Regions from separate parts of the Homo sapiens genome. Here region 2 is linked to region 1. Evidence: promoter capture Hi-C in 16 types of primary human blood cells and fetal thymus (Javierre and others, 2016). All regions are on one chromosome and are shown on one strand. Each heading gives the region's core, a stretch centred on a gene start or on the middle of the fragment in contact. The rest is flanking DNA. Distances are from core to core; before and after follow the strand shown.

Region 1 (5,634 bases), core at 598-3,097:
CTTCAGCCTTCTGATACTACCAGCCCAATGCCCAAGTTTCCTGGCAGCTTTATTTACAGTCACTTTAAAAGACGGAAGGCAGATTTCAATTTTATGGATTGCCAATAAAGTAAGATTTACAGAAGTTCCCCAGACCACTGGGAAAATTACTGGAGCCCACAGCTGCAACAGCACATCCCCAAGGGAACATGCTGGAGAGTGGCAACTTCTCCTATCTGGTTTTAAACGTCCCCAACTCCTATACATTCCCTTCCCAGGCCCCTTCCAGGCAGAAGAGGGGACTGCAGTTTCCATACTGCTCACACAAAATTAAGCATCTCTTTCCAGCCAGCTCCCAACAGCCTCCCTGGTAAGCTGGAAAATCAGCTTGGGGGATCTGAGTTAAGAAGAACAACAAGAAGAGTGAGGTGGGCAGAGTTTGGATCCACAGGCTCAGGACTCCCGTCCTGGGCATATCTGGATCCCCAAGGCTGGCAAAATTGTATACCAAAGGATGCTGCGGGGTAAAGAGGGAAATAGATGACATTTTAGATTTTTTTTTCTTCTGAAATGTCTGGACACACTGCCCAAAGCATCCACATACAAAGAAGGTATTTCGTATAAAGTCATTTATAAAAAACAGACACTCTATAAGGCAGTGATAGGCTCAGTTCAGCTCAGCGAACAAGGATGGAGCTATGGCTTGGTCACAGGCACAGAGCTGGTGCTAGGTGCAGAGACTCAGGGATGTATAGGCAAAGAGGTCTCACTGCCCACTGATGTGTCTGGAGAGGTGGGTGGGTGAAGGGACTTTCCATTTGTCCTCCCAATTTCCTCTCCGAAGCCTGTCCCTTCCCTGGGGTCCACTACTTCTCTGACCTTTCCTGAGAAACAGACTAATAAATGTGGCTACTTACATTTTACATTACATTCTAGGAGCAAATCCAGGGGGCCAGGAGCCCTGCACTCGGCTGGCTGCTTAGTCCCTGGCCCAGACCCCAGGGCCTGACAGGCATCAGAGGGGCCCCTGGGTCTGCTGCTCTGAGCTCAAAACACCCAATACTCTTTGGTGGGTGGGAAATTAAGGGCGGGGATAGCTCCGTGTGCATCCTAGGTCTTTTCCTCTCCCAAGAGAATTCTACTCTGCCACAAAGGAACTCAGCCTCTGCGCCCTGTGGCTTCTGCTGACGGGTGGTGTGTGCTCTGGATGGGGGGTAGGGTTCCTGGCTAGGAGTGGCAGTGGCGCCTGCTCTGGAGTGTCCCTAAATGTCAGCATGCAACATTACCAGGCAGGCCCTCCCACTTCAGTCCTCAGGCCACTCATAGGACCTCCTGTCCCCATGTAGAGAGGCTGACACCAGGTTGGAGCCAGCACTGAAAGGATCCCCGAACTCCTGCTTCTACAAGGCAGCATCCGCAGGTGAGCGGCCAGGCACCTACAAGACACGCACCCTTCAAGCCTGGCTTCCCAAAGCCCCGCCGGGCCAGGCTGGCTGGCACAGCAGACAGTCATGCAGCAGGGTCCCCAGCGACCCCCCATCCCTGAGAGAACACACGGAGTCCCCCGCCCGCCAGCTGCTCCGGAGGCGGCTCCAGGGTAGACTCAACAAGTTCCCGGGCCATGCAGCGCCGCCTGCAGCCCAGAAACCCGGAGGACGCGCTGTGGCGGAGCCCCGCGCGCAGGCGGCAGCCGGCGGCAGCCGGCGGCAGCTCCTTCCACCTCCTCCTCCTCTTCCTCCTCCTCCTCCAGCTCTGGCGGCGGCGGGAGGGGGCTCCTCCACTCCCTCCCTATCCCCCACCCCACGCACGCGGCCCGGCCCGGCCCGGCCCCGCGCCGCCCCCGCCCCACCTCCGCCCCGCGGGGCCCGGGGCTCCGCCCGCCTCGGTGCCAGCCGGGCGCACAGGCGGCAGGCGCGCGGCTTGGGGCGCCCTCGCCTCTGGCCGCCCGGCTCCGCGGAGTAGCTGGGACCTGGAGCAGCGGAAAGGACTTCCCTCCTGCTCCCTCCTCTGCCCCGCCCCCGCCTCCTGGCCCTGGCTCTGAGATCTCGCCGAAGACAATTGCAGTAAATGAGGACATCGGAGGAGCGCGAAGCCGGGTGGCTGTGGCTGGCTCCGCCGCGTCGCGAGCAAGCGAGCGCGCGGGCGTCCCCGGAGCTGGCCCAGCCGCTGCCTCCCCGCGCGCGTCGCTAAGCGGGGCCGGAGGGACGCGAGCGACGCGAGCTGCGGCGCGGGGGCCGGCCGGGCCAGCAGGGCCGGGCCGGCAGCGGTGGAGGGGGCGGGCAGCAGGCGCGCAGCGGGCCAAGTCCCCGGAGCCGAGGCTTCCTCCGCGTGAGCGCGGCGAGTCTGGCCGCGGATGCCCTGTCCGGAGTGCTCCGTGCCGCCCCAGGCTTGCCAGGGTCCGCAGCGAGACATGCCCGAGCCAGGCGCTGCATCGACCTCGACTTATCTGTAAGCAGCGGAAGGTAAGCGGAGCCCCGCGTGCCCTCCTCCCGCGCCCCCGCGCCCGTCGTACTTGGCCGCGGGCAGAGCACCGCTGGGACGGGCGCCGACCCCGATTCGGGCGCACACACTCGGCCCCAAACCGGCTTGGCCGGAAACTCGGCGGCTCCCGGGGCCGGGACACCCCGGTGCAGCCGGGAGCGGACCCGGTGCGGTCGCAGGTGGGGGGCAAGGTTATGCAACTGCATCTGGCGCGACCGGGTCGCTGAGGGGCGTCTGGCAACTTTGGCGACGTCAGGGAGGAGCGGGGCTGCGCCTCTGCGATGTGGGTTCCAGACAGACGCCACAGCTTCGTGAGCGCCCGACAGCCCTAGCCAGGCAAAACTGGGAGATCTGGGGGCGGCCGTCTCCCCGGAAGGTTTCGAGGCTTTTAAGTATTTTCCAAACTAAAGCGCCCTGGAAAGTACAAGTACGGCTGATTAACTTCGGGGGGGGGATGAGTTGGAACAGAGGGGCCCTGACGCCGGCCGTTGAGGAGAGGCGCGAGCAGCAGTGAAGGCAGATGCCCACGTGAAATGCTCGTCTCCTCCACTCGCTGGGGTTGGCACCTTCCCGGGGCTGCGGGTTGGGGTCGGCGCCGCGGGGCTTCCCGGTGCCTGGCAGCCCGAGTCAGACCGGGACAGGCGTGGGAAACCAACCAACGCTGCAGACCTAAGAGACTGCGAGCTGGCGGGCGAGGGCAGGAGGGAGGAGGGAGCCCGCGGGCAGCCCGGGGTCGGGGCAGCTCCTGGAGCCCAAAGTCAAGAGCGAGAGTCTGCATCTTGCTGGTTCATGCTCAGGGCTCCAGGCTGATGTCCCCACTGCTTGGATAAAGAGCCGCTCCCTGTGACCTCAGCATTCTACTACCCAAAAATATGCCACAGGGAGAGGGAGCCAGTGATAAAGAGATGCCAGGAGTGGGGGAGGAGAGGTGCCTCTGGAGTAAATAGGAGAGAAAATGGGTGCGTTTTGCTTATCTACAGCCCAGGGCTCCCGCCCGGACCCCTCTCCTGCTGTTGGTCTGTGCTGGGGAGCTGCACGCGCTCTGGGCCCCTGCGCCAGAAGCAGCGGTGAAGCGGTTTACTTTGACCTTGTCTGCTTAGGCGCTGAAATTCTGCGGAAGCATCCCGAGGTGAAACTGCAAGAGTGGGAATGAACTTTGGGGGAGCCCTGCCTTGGCTGGGAAGCCAAACGATCATTTCAGAAGACTACAGCTCAGGATAGCACAGGGTAGACGTCTGTGCACTTGAACGCTCCCCCCTCAACGAGGACTTGCTAGAGGGTTACCTTTCCATGCCTTATCTCAGTGGGGGGACTGTCAGAGTGACTGCGCTGGCTGGGTACTTGATGAAAAAATACCACTCACAAGACCCGGGCCATTCCCAGAGTAGTACATACATGAAAATGATATAACCCTTATTAAGCTTACGCTACAGCAAGTTACCGTCATTTCACTATGCAGAGGCGGAAAGTGCTGGTTTTTACTATTCCCCCACACTGTACTATTTCTTACATTCATATCCTGTTGAATGTTACTTTTGAAAGTTCATATTTATCTTTGCAATTTTTTTGCAAGAATGATTAGCAAACATGCACAAGGAGCTCAAAGAAAAAATGGAAGTCCTGCCATCTGCATGCCTCACCAGATATTAATCATTTACTATCCATGTTTACTACTTACATTAGATGGCACTGCTCCTCACGATGGTTTTATTAGAGGCGCATTTGGTTAAGGAAAAGAAAAAGTCTAGCACAGCTATCACTAATTGCATGATTTTGCATAAATTACATTAGCCATGGAGAGTTTTGTTTTCTTCACTAAATTCATCATTTTGTTTAAAAGACTAAACAATTCAGTTTAATTTCTTTAGCTAAATGAAAGACTTTTCCTTAAAGACAAGATGTCCTTGAAAAGCTACATATGTCTTTAAACTTATTACAGTTGCCACGACTTTGTATTTTATCATTGTGATTAAGACTTTGAGCTTTCATGTAAGTCAGGCCCTTTATCCTATTAAGAAACAGAATTACTGGTTAAGAAATAGGCTAACAAGGCAAAAGCTGGGAAGCTCCATGTCTGCACAATGAGATTTCTGCAAGCTCTATGGGAGGCTGGGTACTCTATTACTCTGTTTACTTCGGGGGCTTCTCTGTTTTGCCACAGTTGTTTTCCCCTGTGGCAGGAAAGGGAATTTTTGTGTTTTGTTTCTCCCTCTGTAGGGAAAAATTTTTAAATAAATCAATAAATAAGAGAAAGACTTGTACGTGAAAGGCATTCATCTACAAGGAAGACTCCTACACACTGAAATAAGCAGTCCAAAAATCAAAATGATTCTCAGAAATAACAACGGATCGCAGTGGAGTGGCAGGACAGACCCGTTCACGTAGACATTTGTATTCTCTTGTTTGCGCCCAGCCATGGCTATCTCATTTAGAGACAACTACTGAACTCTGGAATATGAGAAGCAGGTGACTTATGCTTCTCAGAGACTCATGATACAGAAATGATCACAGCTACCTCCCAAAGCAGCAGCTCTGTGGTCAGATATTTACGTAGGAGGGCAGTGACAGGTTCACCACGGATTTTAACGCTTGTGAAGGATGCTGTTCAACGCGTCCATAGCATCCAAGAAGCTCAGTTGGGAAGGCAGGCAAATTCTACATACTTGAGGCAAACCACCGTCATTCTGGGAGTGTGAGGTCATAAAAACTCCCCAGATAAAACCAGTGTCATCGTCATTTTCAACAGTCTTTCATAAATGTGAAGCACCACAACCCCTCCCCACCATGATTCCACTGGTTGGAGACCTACATTCCCCAACCAGAAATTAGCTGGCATGATTTATGAAGCAGATCCTTTTTTGTCTCACATATTTGATTTTAATATTTCATAACATTATGGGGTGACTTCAATATTTTAAAGCAAAATTTAATATGATTGATACTACATGACGACACTTTCATTACCATGAAATTCTCATACAAACATTGAGAGAAGTCTTTATTCCAATACTGGAGCTAACCTATGATATATATGTAGTGAAACTTCATGACTTTTAATCAGTTTATTTAAAATGTACATTGTTCTTATACATTAAGGACAGAATACAGACTTGCAGGAACCAAACTATAGGGACCCTGACAGGATTGCTGTAAACAAGTTGTTTGGACAATGTC
Region 2 (5,926 bases), core at 910-3,409, 290 kb after region 1:
GCGCCCAGCCCCGCGCTCCGCACCCGGGCACCCCCGCGGGGTTCTCCTGAGTTCCTGGAGCTCCCGGGGCTGGCGCTCACGCCGTGAGAGGGGTGCGCCCTTAGGGGGGCGGGACGGACGGGGGGTTTCTACGGGAGGTAGGAAACGGGCGGCTTGCAAGGCGCGGGCTTAGGCCGGAGCCTGGTGGTGCGAGGTCCCCAGCTCGGATTTCTCCCTGGTGGAGAGTCCCGGAGCAGAACAAACCAGCAGAGGCTCTGGAAAGGGTCCTCCTGAGCACGTGGCTCATTCATTCATTCGACAAACGTTACCTGAGCGCCTGCCCACTCATTGCCCGAGTGTGCTGGGAGCGCCGCACCAACTGCCTGGTAGGTGGGAGAAGGGACACGTCAGGTAACAAACAGCACAGGTAAGTGCCGGCCACTCAAATGGGGTGGAAAGAGGTGGCACAGCGCTGCCGAGGGAGTGCGTTCCAGACAGGTGACCTCTTGCTTGGGTGCTGAATGAGTGGAGTTTTCCAGAGAGACCAAGAGGAAGCAGCCGCAGAAACCTCAGCCCAGCTGGGCTTGCAGAAGCTAATGCTAGAATAGTTGTGGGACTCAGGATCTGCTGAAGTCGGGGGAAGAGAGAAGTAGGGAAAGGAAAGCCCAGGCCACGCGTGGGGCTCAGGAACGGCATCCTCGCCCGAGGTGGGAGTTCTTCTCAGGCCCTGGTGTTTCCCATGACAGTAAAAGGTGGGGGCTTCAGATTTCTCCAAGGGAAAAGTTAAAGCAACACACACCTATTTATTTTTACTGTAATTTCAGAAAAGAGAGGTTAAAACCAAGACATGGACAAAGCCTCCGAATGAAGGCAGCCCTTTAAATGGAATAAATTTGGTTTCATGGCACATTAATGGGGTGTCTTCTCTCCGAAGACACAGAGACAACTACAGTAGGTCTGGGGGCCGTCAGGGATTGGAGGAACGAAGGTAAGAAAAGGAAGAAGGTAAGAAAAAGAGGTCCCTACCTCTGTGAGGTAGGGACAGTGCTGAACAGCAGGGCTGGGAGAGCCCACAGGGAGGTGGCCAGGATGGCCACAGGGCCTGGGGAGGACCAGGTGGGGCACCATCCTGCGGTAGAGAATGCCCGTCACCTGCCCTAGGGGCCACCCAGAATGCAGATTAAATAAGTATTTGGGAATGGCACAGGAGCTTTTCCATTTTCGTGGGTTAGAGGAAAGCTGCTGCGTTCAAGAGGATAACGTGGGACCTGAGCATTCTGGTAAGTCAACCCCACATTCATGGAAAGCCACGGGCTCTGTTTTACTGATAAGGAACTGAAGTCCCACAGAGGAAGTGGCCAGGCTCACTCACACACAGCATGCACTTGAAGCTTTCTGTGGAAATCAGAAACCTCCGGGGCTCAGGCGCTGTAGTGGTGGCCTGGTGACTCTGACCCCTTGAAGGAGAAGCATCTGTGAAGGTGCTGTCCAGGACAAGTAGGGTGCTCTACGGTAAAGGACATGGTGGCCTGACCTGCTCCAGAGCAGGGAGGCCTCCCTTGAGGAAATAAGATAAACCCAGACTTTAAGGATAAGCAGAAACCAGCTAGGTGAACTGGAGTGGGAACAGCACGTGAAAAGGCCCTGGTTTAGGAAGGAGCACCACTCCTTCAGAGCACAGAAAGGCCAGGATGGCCGAAGCATAGGGAACAACAGGAAAGTGACATAAATTGAGGCTGCAGAGGTAGAAGAAGGGCCTTATTGGTCGTGCTAGGAATTTGGAATTCTGCAAAGAAGCCTGGGAAACAGATTTTGGTGACACTCGCCTTCTCTTTAATGTGCAGTTTCAGTTCTGTTGGTGTGATTCTGCATTGGAGATGGCGTGCTGTAACGAATGGCCAGGAGCTTAAGAGTCATGCAGACTTGGGAGGCCTGGCCTTGCCACGCCCAGCTGCATGGCCATCCTCCTCCTGTTTCTGGCCGTTCTGTTTCTAAACCTTGGGGTTCTGATATTCCTACATGTAAACTAGGGGCTGTAATAGGAATCTCACAGGTGAGTCTTAGGATTATAAGAGGAGACATGACTGCATGTGTAAGACATCATAATGATGTGCTTCCTCATCTGACCCTACCTCCAGGTTCTTTGATAACCTCATGGTTCCCATTTTCTAGAACAGTTGCCACTTGCACTCAGATAAAGGTGACTCACTGAATGCATAAATAAGTGTAGTGCCGGATTTGCATACTTTTGGTAGACTGTCATATAATAAATTTATAAATCAGAATTTTAAAACTCCAGGTGGGGCCGGGCACAGTGGCCCATGCTTGTAATCCCAGCCAGCATTTTGGGAGGCTGAGGCAGGCAGATCACTTGAGGTCAGGAGCTCGAGGTCAGCCTGGCCAACCAGGGTTTTAGTAGAAACCCTGTCTGTACTAAAAATACAAAAATTAGCTGGGCGTGGGTGCGCATACCTGTAGTCCCAGCTACTCAGGAGGCTGAGGCAGGAGAATTGTTTGAACCCAGGAGGTGGAGATTGCAGTGAAGCAAGATCGCACCGCTGCACTCCTGCCTGGGTGACAGAGTGAGACTCCATCTCAAAAACAAACAAAACAAAACTCCAGGTGGACCACGGGCCAGGTGGTTGTAGCTTCAGTCCCTTGATTGCAACATGTGCCCAAGTTTGGCTGAGATGTACCTGTAGCCACGGTCCTTGAAGCCCTGAGAAGATTTGTCAGCATCCCCACGGTGCTCCAGCAGTGCTCTCATCTTGTGGCTCTAAATCGAGTCCATGGCCCTCTCTCACTGTCCTATGGTTGCATAAGCTCAGAACTGGCTTCGTCTCCAATTCCAGGAGCCCTGGAGGTTGTGGCCTGTTGACATTTTTACCTCCTGAGTCAATGTGGCTGGGCCACAGGTCTCAGTTGCCCTCCCAGGCATCTTGCAGGACTTGGATCTGTGCCAAGCTTGTGGGTGTGAACAAGCCCAAGAATGCTGAGGCTCTCAGTTGCTCAGTGCTGCCCATCACTGGGATTTCAGAGTAGTGACCCCCCTCCTCCAAGATACAACAGAATCTTGCTTTGGGGCCATGAAGAACACAATCAATATTACAGTTTTAAATCTTGAAAAGTACAGTTTTAATTTTTTTAATTCCAAAAAATTTCACACATGTGCACTGCAAATTCAGGAGGTAAATTCAGCAAAATCTTGCCTGGTGGAGGTACCAGAAGGCACAGTGAGTCAATGGGGCATGTTTCTCAGTCGGTGGGGAGAGATGAGAATGGAACAGGGATGTGGAGATTTTATGCAGGAAAAGGGGCCTGACCACAGATTTTTTGCCCTTTGAAAGGAGAGGAACAAGGCCTATGCCCACTGCCTCTTGGATTCAGTGGGAGATCTGGGCATCATACTGGATGACCAGGCATGTAGTCACAATGCACAATGCCACCCAGCCCAAAAGTGTATATTCAAGACTTTAGACCCAACTTCGTGCTTACAGGAAATAGAGGAGGTTGAGGAACAAGTGACACCATAAGAAATACAGTGAAACAGGCCAGGCACCGTGGCTCATGCCTGTAACTCTGAGCACTTTGGGAGGCCGAGATGGGCAGATCACCTGAGGTCAGGAGTTCAAGACTAGTCTGGCCAACGTGGTGAAACCCCATCTCTACTAAAAAAAAATATCTGGGCATGGTGGCAGGCACCTGTAATCCCAGCTACTCAAGAGGCTGAGGCATGAGAAGCACTGGAACCCGGGAGGCCGAGGTTGCAGTGAACAGAGATCGTGCCATTGCACTCCAGCCTGGGGGAACAAGAGTGAAACTCCATCTCAAAAAAAAAAAAAAAAGACACTGAAACAAAGCCAGAAGGTAGAATATTCTTTCAGGTAGTAGTCTGGTCTCTTCAATAGTCAATATTATAGAGCAAGAAGGGGCCAGTGGAGAAGAGCTGTTCTAGATTTTAAAAGATGTAAGAAATACAACATTTGGCCGGGCGCGGTGGCTCACGCCTGTCATCCCAGCACTTAGGTAGGCCGAGGTGGGCGGATCATGAGGTCAGGAGATCGAGACCATCCTGGCTAACATGGTGAAACCCCGTCTCTACTAAAAATAGAAAAAATTAGCCGGGCATGGTGGCATGCACCTGTAGTCCCAGCTACTCAGGAGGTTGAGGCAGGAGAATGGCGTGAACCCGGGAGGCGGAGCTTGCAGTGAGCCGAGATCGCGCCACTGCACTCCAGCCTGGGTGACAGAGCAAGACTCCATCTCAAAAAAAGAAAAGAAAAGAAATACAACATTTAAATGCACTGTGTTATCCTTAATTGGAAACTGCTTTAATTATCCAACACTAAAAAAATGTCAAGGGCAAGAGGTGGTTTGAACTATGGACTGGTGTTAGATGATGTATTTTTTTTATTTTGTTAAGTATAATAATAGTTGTTATGGTTAGGTGGGAAAAGATCCTTAAATTTTAGAGCTGCATGCTGGAGTATTTAGAAGTGAACCGTCATTGTATTTGTTATTTAAAATACTACAGGAATAAACAAGATGAAGCAAAATTGCTCAGTCTAGATATGGGTCTATGAGTGTTTCATCTTTCTACTTTTTTCTCCATGTTTGAAATCCTTGGTAAAATAAAGTCAAAGTGGAGGAAGGAGGAGCTTGAGATTGAAAAATCAGTTTGAGAAGCAGCCACCTTGACTGGCTTCACTCTAATAGCCTGGACGCTGCCTCCACACTCCAGGTGCACTGCTCAGCATTCTCCAAGAAGATCATTAAGGCAGACCCTACGTGTTAAATTTCAATCAGTTTCATTGAGCAAATATGCTGTTAAATAGAGACTGCTGTGTGCTGCGTCAGTGTGCCTTATGGGCAAATGTGATGGTGACTATAAATGCAGACCAAGCAGTCCTTCCCACACTGTGTACACAAAGAAAGGAGCTCTGGAACTGGGAGCCAGGACATCTGCAGGAGGAGAATTCTGAAGTGAAAGGAGGCCTGGATATTGGTTGCAAGGCCTTGTCCCTGGAGCCTGGATGCTCTCATACCTTCTACATCTGGGCCTCTGGGTCCAGGACAGTGCCAGGGAGAGTTCATAGAAACAAATGTGTTGAAGACCTTAGCGGTTGTCTGACTCTGAGACAGTTACCTGGCCACTCTTAAGTTTCCTCATTTTTTTTTTAATTTTACTTTAAGTTGCGGGATACATGTGCAGAACGTGCAGGTTTGTTACATAGGTATGCATGTGCCATGGTGGTTTGCTGCACCTGTCAACCTTTCATCTAGGTTTTAAGCCCCTCATGCATTAGATATTTGTCCTAATGCTCTCCTTCCCCTTGGCCCCCTGTCAGGTCCTGGTGTGTGTGTTGTCTGGCCCCCACCGTGTCCATGTGTTCCTATTGTTCATCTCCCATTTATGAGTGAGAATATGTGGTGTTTGGCTTTCTCTTCCTGTGTTAGTTTGCTGAGGATGATGGTTTCCAGCTTCATCCATGTCCCTGCAGAGGACATGATCTCATCCTTTTCATGGCTGCATAGTATTCCGTGTTGTGTATATACCACATTTTCTTTATCCAGTCTTTCATTGGTGGACATTTGGGTTGGTTTCATGTCTTTGCTATTGTAAATAGTGCTGCAATAAACATTATGTGTGCATGTGTCTTTATAGTAAAATGATTTCTATTCCTTTGGGTATATACCCAGCAATGGGATTACTGGGTCACATGATATTTTTTGGTTCTAGGTCCTTGAGGAATCGCCACACTGTCTTCCACAATGGTTGAACTAATTTACGTTCCCACCATCAGTGTAAAAGTGTTCCTATTTCTCCACAGCCTCACCAGCATCTACTGTTTCTTGACTTTTTAATCACTGCCATTCTGACTGGCAAGATTTCCTCATTTTTAAGATAGTGTGACTTCTAGGGTGTTGTGAAGATTTAATGAAATAA

The links. Contacts are between HindIII fragments. The CHiCAGO score rates a contact against its expected background, and 5 or more counts as called.
Region 2: a contact is called between a fragment that was not itself captured here and the fragment with the promoter of INSYN2A in region 1, in 1 of 17 cell types (megakaryocytes). The highest score is 5.3, in megakaryocytes.

Annotation. Positions count from the first base shown.
Region 1 is chr10:127,192,804-127,198,437 of GRCh38, reverse strand. INSYN2A (inhibitory synaptic factor 2A) reads left to right here and starts at 1,847. Exons shown (of 6, transcript NM_001039762.3): 1 at 1,847-2,441. The region is part of intron 27 of DOCK1 (dedicator of cytokinesis 1); the gene reads right to left. The HindIII fragment of the contact is 7,592 bases long and covers 1-3,883 here.
Region 2 is chr10:126,899,320-126,905,245 of GRCh38, reverse strand. LOC105378550 (a long non-coding RNA gene) reads left to right here. Exons shown (of 2, transcript XR_946449.3): 1 at 1-686; 2 at 804-4,535. Among named protein-coding and RNA genes, the nearest start is that of DOCK1, 3.1 kb to the left of the region's middle. The HindIII fragment of the contact is 1,573 bases long and covers 1,373-2,945 here.